Linked DNA regions of Homo sapiens: region 2 is linked to region 1. Evidence: promoter capture Hi-C in 16 types of primary human blood cells and fetal thymus (Javierre and others, 2016). All regions are on one chromosome and are shown on one strand. Each heading gives the region's core, a stretch centred on a gene start or on the middle of the fragment in contact. The rest is flanking DNA. Distances are from core to core; before and after follow the strand shown.

The links. Contacts are between HindIII fragments. The CHiCAGO score rates a contact against its expected background, and 5 or more counts as called.
Region 2: a fragment that was not itself captured here is called in contact with the fragment with the promoter of TMEM263-DT in region 1 in 1 of 17 cell types (non-activated CD4 T cells); the score reaches 5.7 in non-activated CD4 T cells.

The regions. Positions count from the first base shown.
Region 1 is chr12:106,950,595-106,958,050 of GRCh38, forward strand. TMEM263-DT (TMEM263 divergent transcript) reads right to left here and starts at 4,901. Exons shown (of 1, transcript NR_185933.1): 1 at 2,919-4,901. TMEM263 (transmembrane protein 263) reads left to right here and starts at 5,313. Exons shown (of 4, transcript NM_152261.4): 1 at 5,313-5,471; 2 at 6,488-6,555. RefSeq lists a silencer at 4,941-5,700 and enhancers at 4,977-5,271, 6,201-6,260. The HindIII fragment of the contact is 6,686 bases long and covers 932-7,456 here.
Region 2 is chr12:2,891,523-2,898,435 of GRCh38, forward strand. The region is part of intron 1 of TULP3 (TUB like protein 3); the gene reads left to right. Among named protein-coding and RNA genes, the nearest start is that of TULP3, 4.1 kb to the left of the region's middle. The HindIII fragment of the contact is 7,043 bases long and covers 1-5,846 here.

The DNA.
Region 1 (7,456 bases), core at 3,651-6,150:
CTACAGCAACAAAAGGAACAAACTACTCCTACACACAACATAAATACATCTCAAATCCATTATTCTAAGTGAAAGATGCAAGACTAAAAATGCTTCATACTGTATTCCATTTATATGACATTCTGGAAAAGGCAAAACCATAAGGAGAGAAAACAGATGAGAGGTTGCCTCGGGGTGGGAGGGGTTGCGCATCTTTTCATATGCTTATTTGCCATCCATGTATCTCCTTTGGTAAAGTGATTGTTCAATTATTCACACATTTTAAAACTGGATTGTCTTCTGAGTTGTAAGATTGTTTCACATATTCAGAATACAGTCACTTAATAGGTATGTTTTGGCTGGGAGCGGTGGCTCACGCTTGTAATCCCAGCACTTTAGGAGGCTGAGGCAGGCGGATCATGAGGTCGGGAGATGGAGACCATCCTGGCTAACATAGTGAAACCCCGTCTCTACTAAAAAACAAACAAACAAACAAACAAACGAAAATTAGCTGGGCATGGTGGCAGGCGCCTGCAGTCCCAGCTATTCGGGAGGCTAAGGTAGGAGAATGGCGTGAATCCAGGAGGCAGAGCTTGCAGTGAGCCGAGATTGTGCACTGCACTTCAGCCTGGGTGACAGTGCGAGACTCCGTCTCAAAGAAAAAAAAAAAAAAGGTATGTTTTGCAAATATTTTCTCCCAGTCTGTTGCTTGTTCTTTTGTTTTCTTAAGTGACATCCAAAGAGCAAGTGTTATCCAAACAGCAAGTTTTTATAAATTTCTTTCTTTCATGGATTGTGTTTTTTGTTGTACCTAAGAAAACTCTGCCTAATTCAAGATCATAAAAATGTTCTCCTATGTTTTCTTCTAAAAGTTTTATATTTTCACATTTAGGTCTATGATCCATTTTGAATTATTTTGCATATGGTGAAAGGCATGAGTTTATAGGTGTTAAGCTTTTGTTTTAAAAATGATGTCCAATTATTCCAACATGTGCTTCTTTTCACTATCTTTTAATAAGGCTCAATTTAGCAGACACTCTATATATGATCCACAAAAAGAAAGGGAACCTTCTAGCTTTGGTGTGACAATCCTATGGCTGGAGATGAAAGGGCAGTTTCCAGTCCTTTGACTGGCAGAAATACCTAATAAGTATGCTTTCTACTCCATAGAAATGCATGATATAGAATAGTCCAGAAAGAACTGTCAATGCTTTCTAGTCAAAGATCACCAGGAACACACCTGTGGTTGAACAAGCCGAATTTACTACTCATTGCAGCAAGGAAGAACACATCACGGGGAACCACGTGGCATACTGGTAAGGTGTTCAAAAAAATCTTTTAGTAAGATTGGGTTTGTGTTAGGTGATCTGATAGAGGGTTTAAGGTGGTGGAACTTTGCTCTATGCTCTAAACAGGATATTGTCAGGAAGTGGGGGTAATTCTATGATTGGGTATCTTAATAAATCTTATCTAGAAAGAGGGAAGACTGGAATGAGGCTTAAGCTGTCATTGGCAAAGAGGCAACAGCTACGTAGACTAGTTTGGTATTTTCATTTTGTGTATTTCATTTGGTGGGTTGGACAGCATTTGTGTTTTTGTCTACATTCACACACGATTATGAAGTAGTCTTATTTTTGTCCTGATCCACCATGATCATGGAGTGGCCTCGTCTGATGTTGATGTTCTCTAAAATTATTTTTGTTCAACAAGAATACCAAAGCCTAGTGTGCCAGCATCTACTGCATGTCAGAAACTGCTTTTCTCTTTCTCGGAATATAGTGATTAAGAACTTGGGCTCTAGAGTCAGACAAAATTGGGTTTGATTCTAAAGCCTGCTCTTCACTAGCCTGTGGGACCCAGGGTAAATTATCCAACTTCTCTATGCCTCGGTTTCCTCATATGAATATAGGATTTCCTATATTAGAATATAATGTGCTTGCTTCATTGGATTGAGAGAAATCAGATGATCGAGGTTAGGAGCTGTGTCAAATAAATCTGCCGTATCATAGGAAAAATTAAGGATATTGGTGCAGGCAAAGGAAAACCAATAGCACAGGTGATTGTGCCAGGAATGGCAAAGAGCAGTGAAGAAAGTGAGGATAGAAAGCATAATGATTTACACTGGGGGGTAACTAACTTTTATAAAGCTGTTAATTTAATGCAAGGATAATGCATTACACTCATGAAAACATGGTGAAACAGGAAAAACGTGCGCACCTTGCAACAAGTAGGCTTCTTACTTAAATGAGTCCATACTGAAACCCTGGGAAGAGTGTTTGATAATGATGAAAACTATGATTGTGCACATAACAGGAGACAGACTCACATGTTGGGTAGAAGGTTGGGCTGGAGCTTTTTAAACTTCAGCGTACTATCAGCCTAGAAATAATTTCTTGCTTTAACATTACTGGTTTCTGCCTTCTTTCTGGTCCTCTTTGAACCACCCCACCATGTTAAGCAATGCCACATCTAATTTCTAAGTTTTTCAATAAGGCAAAAAGACTGTGTGTGTACCCAACTAGAAGAAAACTCAGTCACTTAAGAGGCTGGGTAATTGATATGTGTATTAAGAATTTTGTTAAAAGAATTTTATTGCCTGAAGGCACTAAGAATTCATCATTATTGTTATTTTAAGAGAGAGGGTCTCACTTTGTCACCCAGGCTGGAGAGCAGAGGCACAATCATAGCTCACTGCAGCCTTGAAATCCTGGCTCAAGTGACCTTCCTGCCTCAACTTCCCAAGTAGCTAGGACTACAGGTGCGTGCCACCACACCTGGCTATTTATTTATTTATTTTTTGTAGAAACAGGGTCTCACTATATTGACCCGGCTAGTCTCAAACTCCTGGCTTTAAGCAATCCTCCCACCTTGGCCTCCCAAAATGCTGTGATTACGTGGCCAGGGCTCATTAAGACATGACAAAATCTTTCAAAATAACATCCAGAAATAAATGTTTCATTTTATTTTTCTTGAAACAGGGTCTCACTCTGTTGTCCAGGCTGGAATGCAGTGGTGTGACCACGGCTCAGTGCAGCTTTGACCTCCCAGGCTCTAGCAATCCTCCTGCTTCAGTATCCCAAATAGCTGGGACTACAGGAGGGTGCCACCATGCTCAATTATTATTATTATTTTTTTAAGAGATGGGATCTCCCCATGTTGCCCTTGCTGGTCTTAAACTCCTAGGCTCAAGTGATCTTCCCGACTCAGCCTCCCGAGGTGCTGGGATTAAAGGCGTGAGTCATCTGTATTTTATTTTAACAATCTAAGAAAGGGAGGTCACAGAATGGGAATCAAGAACTTAGAGGAGTTCAGACTATAAAACGAAGAAATACTACAAGTCATGTATTTGTTTGTTTTATAGGCTGAACTCCTACACCAGAAGTTTCTGATGAACTCATGACCTCCCAAAGGAGCTCTTTTAAATCTTAGTTAGTTTATGAAACAGATTCAACTGCTGCTTTGAGTTATGGCTTTTAATAACCGTAAAAATGCAAAATCTCCCAGGAGTGGCTACAATCTTGTCAGTCATTTGTACTTTAATAATAATTAGATTCTCTTGTAAAACGACGTGCAAAGGGAAGAAGAAACAAGACGTAATTGTGCACTTCATAATTTTACCTAGAGTTCAACCTTGAAAGGTCACATATTAAGGATAGAAGTTTGTGTAATAACGAGAAAACAGAGGATATCCGTTTCTTCACATACTGGATAAACAACAATCCACGGATCCTGCTAATCATCCAACCCATATGTTGAATTGACAAGAGTATTTAATTTCCTCTTTCTGCTTTGAGAAACTAAATATCTTGACAGTCTGAGCACAGTGGCTTAAGTGGCCTTAATTCTCTGATTTCATAAGTTAATGATTAGGTTGAAGCTATAAACTATAGTCCATTCCATTTAAGACCTGGATCAAAGTTAGCTTCATCCAGCATGTTTTAGCACGTCCTTTCTGAGCTATGTTGTCAGTAGTTACCATTCAGTTCCACCATCCTGAATATTCTGCAGTTGATAAACCATTTTGTGAATTTTTTTTTTTTGCTTTCTGTGTATGTTTTTGACTCGCGTGTTTTTGCTTCGCTAATCAGATTGCGAAAGGAAACATCTCACGTTTGCATAGGACTTCACAGTTCATAAAGACCTTTCCCACCCACCACAAAAAAAGTATGACAAGTTTCCCGTCATCTTCATTTTATAGGTGTGGAAAGGGAGTCAAAGAAAAGTTAATCGATACCATTTATCTAGTTAAGCAGGCTTTGAGCAGTTCATCTCCTCCCGTCCTCAAAACGACCTTCTGAGGTGTCTCCTGCAACCCTGCTCTGAAGCTCAGAGCGAGACGGCCTCACATCCCAGGGGGCTCAGCTCTGGCGGGGCCGCCACGCGCCTCCCCGTGCCTTTGGACGGGTGAGGAGAGCTGCTGCCCCGGCGGGGACCACGTGGAGGGGCCTGGTCAGCAAGTGGCAAGGACGCGGCGCAAAGCCAGGCTTTCTAATGTACAATCCGCGGCTCTTTCGATACTGAACACCCACCTCTTCAACAAATTCGAGCGCCTGGCAGGCCCTGCACCAAGCCTAGGGTGATGGCGACCCAGGCGGGTTTTTACTCTCAAGGAGCTCAATTCTAGGGCAGGGAGAAGTAAAATTAAAAAAAAAAAAATCATAACAAACTGAAAAACACATAAATAAGCCACGTCTCTCCTCACCCCTAGCACTTAATCACAAAGGCCTGTAGAGAGTCCCGACGAGAACTTCTGAGCAGGCCCCGCTGTCAGTCCCTGAGGACAGCATGCAAGGGAGGTTGACGTCCCTGGACGAAGAAAGTGCTGGAGAAACTGGCGACCGTCCCACCTTCCCTAAGGCGAAGGCTCTGAATTCCGAAGACCGTTACTCGGCGCGGAACGCGGGCACCGCCGACGTCAAAACACCGGGCCTGGGGGCCGCGGCCTACGCGTCTCCCGGGCTTCGCGCCCCTCGCCCGATTTGATTGGATGGTGGCGGGAAGAAGGCGGGGAGACCCCCGGAGGAGGGGCGCGCAGGCCGGCCGGGGGTTCCCACGGAGGCGTCCAGGGGGCGAAGGGGCGGGAGCGGGCCTCGGAGCGTCGCGCGTGCGCAATTGGGACACAGCCGGCTGGGGACTGCTGGGAGGGCCGGACCCTGCGAGAACGGGTGGGCGTGTGCCCGGTGGGCGCGGGAGGGGCCCGGGCTGCACGAGCGCGCGTGCGCGTCGGAACTGGAGCCGCGGGAGGAGGCGGGAGCTGAGGAGGCGGCGGAGGGGGCGGGTCGCGTCGGGCGCCACGTCCGCAGCCAGAGGCCTCCGCCTCCACCACCGCCGCCACAGTCTTCCAGCTCCACATCCTGAGAGGACGCCTCTGGAGCCGCGACTGCCCGGGGTTGTGCCGGCCGCCGCTGCCGCCCAGGCCGCCTCAGCTCTCCTCTGCGCCGGCCCGCTCACTCCGCCCGGCCCCAGCCCTAGCGCTGGCCGCGACCCCGGCGGTGAGTGAGTCGGGATGCGAGGGCAGGGGCGCAGTCCCGGCTTCCTGCCCTCCTCCGTCGCCCTCTGCCGTCGGCGCCCCTGCCCCTCACCTCCCAGTGCCCGGCCTGGCTGCCCAGCGGGGCCTTGGCGAGGCCCCAGCGGGAAAGGGGGAGGGGCGGGACGAAGTTGGGGGCGGATGGAGGTTCGCTTCTGGGGCTACTCCTCCTTATACGTCGCTGACTGCCCCGCCGCGATTGGAGCTTGCGCACCCCTGGAAAGCCTCCGCCTGACTTCTTAGCATCTGGGGGTTCGGGGTTGGGGGCGGAGGAGGAAGGTGAGGGGCATCAGCAGCCTGGGAGAGGGATGCAGCGGAGGGGCTTGGGTACCGGGCTTCCTCGCCCTGCCAACTCCTGACCTGTTGCTAAACCTCCCTTTTGGGTTCAGGCACACAAGACTTTTTCCCAGTGGACACCCCCATAGCTCTTCCTGGGTAGGAAGGCTGTATCTCCACGCCTAACCTAAAGTAAAAGTGGGAATGGAGAGGGTGCTGGCCGCGCCCAGGGGTGACAGGGAGGGCTGGAGCACCCATCCGTGCCGTCACTGCCTCCCAGTCTAAATAAAAACTGCCTGCTCTGCACACGCAGCTTCAAGACCGACCCCCCAGCTCCCACTTCCAATCAGATCGCCTGTCCTAAACCCTTCTTACATAGAAATTCTGGAGCCCTTCGGGAGTGGGGGGAGTGCTGGGTGTACAACGTGGAGCGGAGGGAGGAGGTGCCAAGCTCAGTGCTAGCCACGGCGCCTCCAGGGTCATTTTCTGCCTCCTGCCACGTCACTCACTGCTAAAGAAAAAAAAAAGATTTGCTAGTGCCTAAAGGGATCAGTAGGGAGAGAAGGGGCCACCCGGAAGGGTTTAGAAACACCTAGAGAAAAGGGAAGGGTTCTTAATTTGATTTTTGCGTCCTTGTGAACACTGTGCTAATTCCAAATGAAAATATTTGCTATATGTGATTATTTGCTGTATGCTATTGTTTAGCCTTTGAAACTTCTGCTGGTGTGAGTGCCCTCAGGGGTTCCCCAGGAATATCGATACAACACCAACAGGTAAACGCGCGCGCCCGTGTGTGTGTGTGTGTGTGTGTGTGTGTGTGTGTGTGTGTGTGTGTATGTGTGTGCGCGCTCGCGCCCATGCTTAACTTTTTAAAAAGAAAGGGAGAAGTAGCCTTTGATAAACCCATATGCATCCTGTTTTGCTTTTTCCACTTTCATTTCTTTAGTCTTTGTTAGAACAGATGTACCAGAAACCAAGTTCAGTAAAAATTTGTCCATTTATAGAAAGCATCGTTAGAAATTATAACGGTTGCTACATTGGACAAATATACAGATTTCTTTGTGTGTGCATGGGTTTGATTTTTTTTTTTTTAACTACAGGAAAATCTTTACCTTTGTTTCAGTTATTCGGTATTTGCTCTTTTTCTATTTCCGGAAGATATCTCACTGGATTATATATAAACATCTTGAGAATAAGACCTTTGTATGCTTGTTCACAAGGATGCCTCAGTGCCTAATAGAATGTTTGACACATAGTAGGAATGCAAATATCTGTTGAAATAATGTGAAGATGGTTTACTGGTTCTCTGGTTTAATAGAGTATTGTAATTCTGCTTAATGTTTCATTTAAGGATAACCCTTAAAAATTGCCATTTTGACACTGTCAGTTATTACTCGTCTAAGTGGGCACTTACAAGTTTTACTGGCAGATGACCTTTTCTTCCTTGCTAGATTGAGAGCATTTCTTGTAGCCTATTTGCTGTTGATTTAATGGGCAGGGGCCATCTTTAAAAGCAGACTCTTCTTGATAGTTGGTTTAACTAGAAAAACATAAAAACAGTAAGCTGGAGTTTTAATGTACTCTGCTTGTTGGTGTATATGTTGTAAAGCTCTGTATACATATATTTTTGAATCTCTTTGCAGTTATTTGGCAAAAAAGCTAAAACATGGGAGT
Region 2 (6,913 bases), core at 1,075-3,574, about 100 Mb before region 1:
GTCTGACTGATTTGCCAGTGGGCCACACCCCTTGTTTGTGCGCCTCTTTCTCTGCCAGAGGGAGAGCCTCGGAAAAAAAAGGATCCAAAATCTCAGCGTGTCACTTTCTTGTTCGCTAGGTTAATGAGAAGTTAATGGGAAGCCGTTTGAAATCATTGGTTAGAAACTTTGGCGTCATCTGAGGATTTAAGCCCTACACGCCAACTGTATACCCCGCTTTTTATTCCATTACCAAGACAAAGATTTGGGGCCAGGCGCCTTGGAACACGTCTATTATCCCCAGCACTTTGGGAGGCCAAGGCAGGAGGATCGCTTGGTCTCAGGAGTTCGAGACCAGCCTGGACAAGATAGCGAGACCCCCATCTCTAGAAAAAAATAAAATAAAATAAAATCAATCAGTCAATCAATTAAAATTTGGCCGGACACGGTGGTGCGCGCCTGTAGTTCCAGCGACTCGAGAGACTGAGGAGGGAGGATTCCTTGAGCCCAGGAGTTCCAAACTCCTGTGTTGGGCCACTGAGCTCGCTAGCCTGGGCAACGCAGTGACATCCTGTCACCTTAAAAAAAAAATGATTTGACGTGTAAGTATTTAGTTTGATATTTCCACTAGTAGATATTTAAACAATTTTAAACCATTTTTAAAAATTGTCACAAAGTTGTTGGGGGTAAAGAACATGTATTTTCCTTTTTCGTCAAGTTCTATTGAGGTGATAGCTGCACTCTGAAATTTGTTCACTGTGCTTTTTTTTTTCCCAAGTCGAGGAAGAAAACTACATTTACAGGTGTAAGTGGTAGAGGAGATAAAGTTAGTATTCAGCATCTCTGGTTGAATTCCGAAAATATTTGTTCAGTTGTGGGCGCTCAGTTTTAATTCCATGAATTTAAAGTAGTAAATTTCATGAGTACCAGATGTTTGATATGACTCAGATTTTTTGGGGAAAAAAAAACGGGATGCGGGATTGACTTTGAAATTGGGACCAAGAGGCTTTTCCTTCCTTTTTTTTTTCTGAGACGGAGTCTCTCTCTGTCGCCAGGCGGTAGTGCAGTGGTGCGATCTCGGCTAACTGCAGCCTCCGCTTCCCGGGTTCAAGTGATTCTCCTGCCTCAGCCTCCTGAGTAGCTGGGACTATAGGCACGCGCCACCACGCCCAGCTAATTTTTGTATTTTTAGTAGAGACGGGGCTTCACCATGTTGGCCAAGATGGTCTCGATTTCTTGACCTGGTGATCTGCCCACCTCGGCCTCCCAAAGTGCTGGGATTACAGGCGTGAGCCACTGCGCCTGGCCCCCTCCTTGTTCTTCCGAAAGAAACTAGCTCTTTAAATTTTATTTTCTTTTCTTTTAATTTTAATTTTTTTTTTTTTTTGAGACAGGGTCTCACTCTGTCGCCCAGGCTAGGATGTGGTGGGCGATCTCAACTAATTTCAACCTCTTCCCCAGGTTAAGCGATCCTCCCACCTCAGCATCCCTAGTAGCTGGGACCACAGGTGCGTGGCACCACCTGGCTAATTTCTTGTATTTTTTGTAGAGGTGGGGTTTCGTCATGTTGCTCAGGCTGGTGTCGAAGTGAGCTCAAGTGATCTGCCTGCCTCAGCCTCCAAAACTTCTGGGATTACAGGCCTGAGCCACTGCACTTGGCCCTAAATTGTAAAATTGACATCAAAGGGGAATGTGTGAGTCACCAAATGTTTCTCCTGCCCTCTGTAATGTTAGTGCAACTTCTATCAGTGTTTAACTCATTTGTTACTAAGAGGGAGTCTCTTGCTTTTTTCTCTTTTTGGGCTTCAGGTTGTGTGTTTAATGTGTTTTTTTTTTTTTTTTTCCAAACGGAGTTTCGCTCTCGTCGCCCAGGCTGGAGTGCAGTGGCGCCATCTTGGCTTACTTGCCTCCTGGGTTCCAGTGATTCTCCAGCCTCAGCCTCCTGAGTAGCTGGGATTACAGGCATGCGCCACCGTGCCCGGCTAATTTTTATATTTTTAGTAGAGAGGGGGTTTCTCCATGTTGGTCAGGCTGGTCTTGAACTCCCGACCTCAGGGGATTCGCCCGCCTCGGCCTCCCAAAGTGCTGGGATTACAGGCGTGAGCCCCCCAACCCTGCCTGGCTGTTTAATGTTTTTGATGAAATACATTGATAGAATTTTCTGTATTACTGCCTTTCAATGTAAGGATAACAACCAACTTTTAGGTTTTCTGTGTTTTTTTTTTTTCTTGGAATTATGTAACTTTTATCATGAAGCAGATTTATTTTCAACAAAATAGAGAAATTATTAACTACAAATATTTTTTTTAATTTTTATTTTTTTGTAGAGACAAGGTCTCACTATGTTGCCCAGGATGGTCTTGAAGTCCTGGTCTCAAGTGATCCTCCTGCCTCAGCCTCCCAAAGTGCTGGGATTACAGGTGTGAGCGACCAGGCTTGGCCTATTTTCTTATATCAGAAATGTTTAGTGAAAATTGGAGGTGAAATTTGAAACAACACTCAGGACCTTTGTTGAGGCTAGGCATTTTATAATATAGATTCCCTGGAGATGACGGGGGTTGGCTGGTGCTGGAACTTGAGCCCTATCTGGCCTTTTGTAAGTGATAGAGAATTGAGAATTGAAGGCGTGCTTCCCACTGTGGTGTGACCTTGTGAGCTGGAGTCATCTAAGAAATCCCAGTCGGTGGTTTGTCCATATACCATGATTTCTCTTTAGAAATATAAACAGTAGGCTGGGCATGGTGGCTCACACTTGTAATCCCAGCACCATGGGAGGCCGAGATGGCGGGGGGGCGGGGCGGGGGGGGGGAAATCACCTGAGGTCACGAGTTCAAGACCAGCCTGACCAACATGGAGAAACCCTATCTCTACTAAAAATGCAAAACTTAGCCAGGCATGGTGGCAGGTGCCTATAATCTTAGCTACTCAGGAGCTGAGGCAGGAGAATCGCTTGAACCAGGGAGGTGGAGGTTGCAGTGAGCCAAGACTGTGCCACTGCACTCTAGCCTGGGTGACAGAGCAAGACTCCGTCTCAAAAACACACACACACACACACACACACACACGCACGCACACAAAAAAGAGATCTGTCAAGATAAAAAGCTCAATAATAGGCTAGGTGCAGTGGCTCATGCCTGTAATCCCAGCACTTTGGGAGGCGGAGGTGGGCAGATCACGAGGTCAGGAGTTCAAGACCAGCCCAACCAACATGGCGAAACCCTGTCTCTACTAAAAATACAAAAATTAGCCAGTTATGGTGGTGTGTGCGTATAGTCCCAGCTACTCCGGGAACTGAGGCAGAAGAATTGTTTGAACCTGGGAGGCGGAGGTTGCGGTGAGCCGAGATCACACCACTGCACTCCAGCCTGGGCGACAAGAGCAAAACTCCATTTGAAAAATAAAATAAAATGAAATAAAAATAAGAAATAGTGAAAATAAATAACATTCCCGAAGAGAGAAAATATAACCCCTGAGAAGGGAGAATTGGGCAAAAGTTAAAACGAACTTAAGTTCTGAGTAATGTCTGTTTGAATCTACAAGTAATAAATGCATTCTTTTAACTTCTGGATTAAATCATACATCTTAAATAGCCTTTTTGTTTAGTTCACTCAAAAGAATGCTTTTTGCTTTTGCTGTGTGGTACTTGCAAAATCAGGAGGGGTTTACTCTAAAATAGTTTTCCCTGCAGCATTCTTTGGGGCTATGGGAATGCTCAAATCAGCGGCCAGCCTTTGCTTCTCATTGCCTCCCTCTCCCCAGGCAGTTCTCCCTGCTCTGATTGTGTCTCTACTAAATGGGCCTCCTAGGAAATGGATGTTCATTCCCTGGCTTCAATTAAGTTAGCTCCAGATTGTGGCCGTCTTTCAAGTAGAGGACAGCTGAGCTTAGAATACTAACATTTCTCCCTAGATGAGGAAGGATAGATGTCAAAGGAATTCTTTTCTGACACTTCTCATATGACCTTTATGTGTCTTTTCTCAGAAGCAATATTTTGTTCAAGCCAGATGTGTTCTTGGTGTGTCAGTATGTGTAAAAACATGGCCTTCGAATATTGACATTTAGGATTTGGACAAGGTGAACCTATTTGTCAATTGAGTTAGGAAACATACTTTGTTAATAGCTCTTTCCACAATTATCTGAAATTGTTATCAGTTTGAACATGATGAAATCTGATGCCTCTTTCACTCTATACAGTTATTTGCCACTTAATGATGGGGATGCATTCTGAGAAATGTGTCATTAGTGGATTTTGTTGTGTGAACGTCATAGTGTACACAAACCTTGATGGGATATCCTACTACCTACCTAGGCCCTGTGGTACAGTCTGTTGCTCCTAGGCTACAAAGCTATACAGCCTGTTACTGTACTGAATATTGTAGGCAATTGGAACACACTGGTAAGTATTAGCATATCTAAACATAGCAAAGGTACAGTGAGAATACTTTTTTTTTTTTTTGAGACGGAGTCGCATCTTTGTTACTCAGGCTGGAGTGCAATGGCATGATCTCGGCTCACTGCAATCTCTGCCTCCCAGGTTCAAGTGATTCTCCTGCCTCAGCCTCCCAAGTAGTTGGGATTACAGGCGTGCACCACCATGCCCAGCTAATTTTGTATTTTTAGTAGAAACGGGGTTTTACCATGTTGGTCAAACTGGTCTTGAACTCCTGACCTCAAGTGATCCACCCGCCTCTGCCTCCCAAAGTGCTGGGATTACAGGCGTGAGCCACTGTGCCTGGCTGACAATGTGGTGTTATCATCTTAGGGGACCCCTGTTGTATATGCAGTATGGTTGACCTAAATGTCGTTATTCAGGGCACTCCTCCCCAGGGCTGCTTAAAAATCCATTCACTGGCTTGGAAGTTCTACCTAAAAATAGCAAGTCAGCTGGCATTTTTAATGAACATATTGAAATACCAGAGAATGAAATTCCTGTCTCTGCTGACCATTTTAATACACGTGTTCAGTCGTGTGGTTTAACACATTCAGGTAGATTGGGAGTGAGACTTGTGATTGAATTTGGGCTCTTTCGCTGATCAGCTGTTTGACCTTTAGAATATGAACTATAGTTGTAAGTTTAAAATTGCTTTCCTGTGATGTGTAGAAAATAAGGCTGTAACAAAGCAAGAAATATTTTTCAAATATGCTCCTGGAAAAATAAAATTATTGCTATTTAGCTTTGCAGGAAGAAACTTCAATAAATCTACAAGGTAGGTGCTATAATCTCATTTTACAGAGAGATATGAAACTCATATGAAAGGAGTTCACCTCCTTTCTCCCGAAATTCATTTAGAGCATCTATGAGTTTCATATCTGTCTGTAAAATGAGATTATAGTGCCTACTTTGTCAAGGTTATCGTGAAAATTATCACACATCATATGTGAAAAATAATATATATTTAATATAATTCCTGGCAGGCAGTATTAAATATTCACTAAGTAGAACTGTACTTAAGTGCAACTAGCAGAGTGACAACACATTTTAACAATGTTTCAATAACAATACAATTTTGGACTTTTAAATTTTTTTTTTGGAGTCTCGCTCTGTCGCCTAGGCTGGAGTGCAGTGGCAGGATCTCGGCTCATGGCAACCTCCACCTCCTGGGTTCAAGCAGTTCTCCCTGCCTCAGCCTCCTGAGTAGGTAGGATTACAGGTGCCTGCCACCACCCCTGGCTAATTTTTGTATTTTTAGTAGGGACAGGATTTCACCATGTTGGCCAGGCTGGTCTCGAACCCCTTACCTCAGGTGATGCACCTGCCTCGGCCTCCTAAAGTACTGGGATTACAGGCATGAGCCACTACGCCCAGCCTAAAGATTTTTTTAATACAGGGGAAATTATTAGAAATTTCTGGGTTTCCAACATTCGAAAGCTTTTGAAAGGTGATAAAGTATTATGATGAAATCATTAGTCTTCTCACTGAAGTGAAGATTAAGGTAACACATTCATTTGTAGTATTAAGAAGTATTGTAAAACAAAAATCTTCCCAGGCACAGTGGTTCAGGCCTATAATCCTAGCACTTAGGGAGGCTGAGGCAGGAGGAAGGAGATCACTTGAGGCCAGTAGCTCAAGACCAGCCTGGGCAACATAGTGAGACCCCCTGTCTGTCTGTTGGTCTGTCATGTTCGTTTGTTCTCTCTCTCAAGACATAGGGTCTTGCTGTATTGCCCAGGCTAGTCTTGAACTCGGGCCTCAAGTGATTCTCCCACCTCGGCCTCCCAAAATGCTGGAAAGGCATGAGCCACTCTGCCTGGCCCGAGACCCTGTCTCTTAAAAAAAAAAAAAAAAAAAATTCTAGGCCCAGTGCGGTGGCTCATGCCTGTAATCCCAGCACTTTGGGAGGGCAAGGCAGGCAGATCACCTGAGGTTAGGAGTTAGAGACCAGCCTGGGCAGCATGGTGAAACCCTGTCTCTACTAAAAATACAAAATTAGCCAGGTGTGGTGGCGCATGCCTGTGATCCCAGCTACTTGGGAGGCTGAGGCATGAGAATCACTTGAACATGGGAGGCAGAGGTTATAGTGAGCCAAGATCGCGCCATTGCACTCCAGCCTGGGCAACAAGAGCGGAAACTAGATCTCAAAAAAAAAAAAAAAAAAAGATATAATAGCAGTTGCAGTTTGAGTGCTTACTATGAGCCAAGTTTCATTTAATCTTCACAATAACCTTCTGAGTTAAGTGTCATTGTCCTCACTTTGTAAATTAGGAAACTTGAGGCTTTACTAGGTTAAGTTGTACTGGGAACTGTGCTGTAACCACATAGCACACGTCTCTAAATGGGGACTTACAATTAGTTTGAACTAATATAGGCCAAGCCAGGGGTCAGCAGACCTTTTTAATTATTTTTTTTCAGATGGGGTCTTGCTTTGTTGCCCAAGCTGGTCTTGAACTGCTGGACTTAAGCCATCTTCCCGCCTCAGCCTCCCTAGCAGCGGGG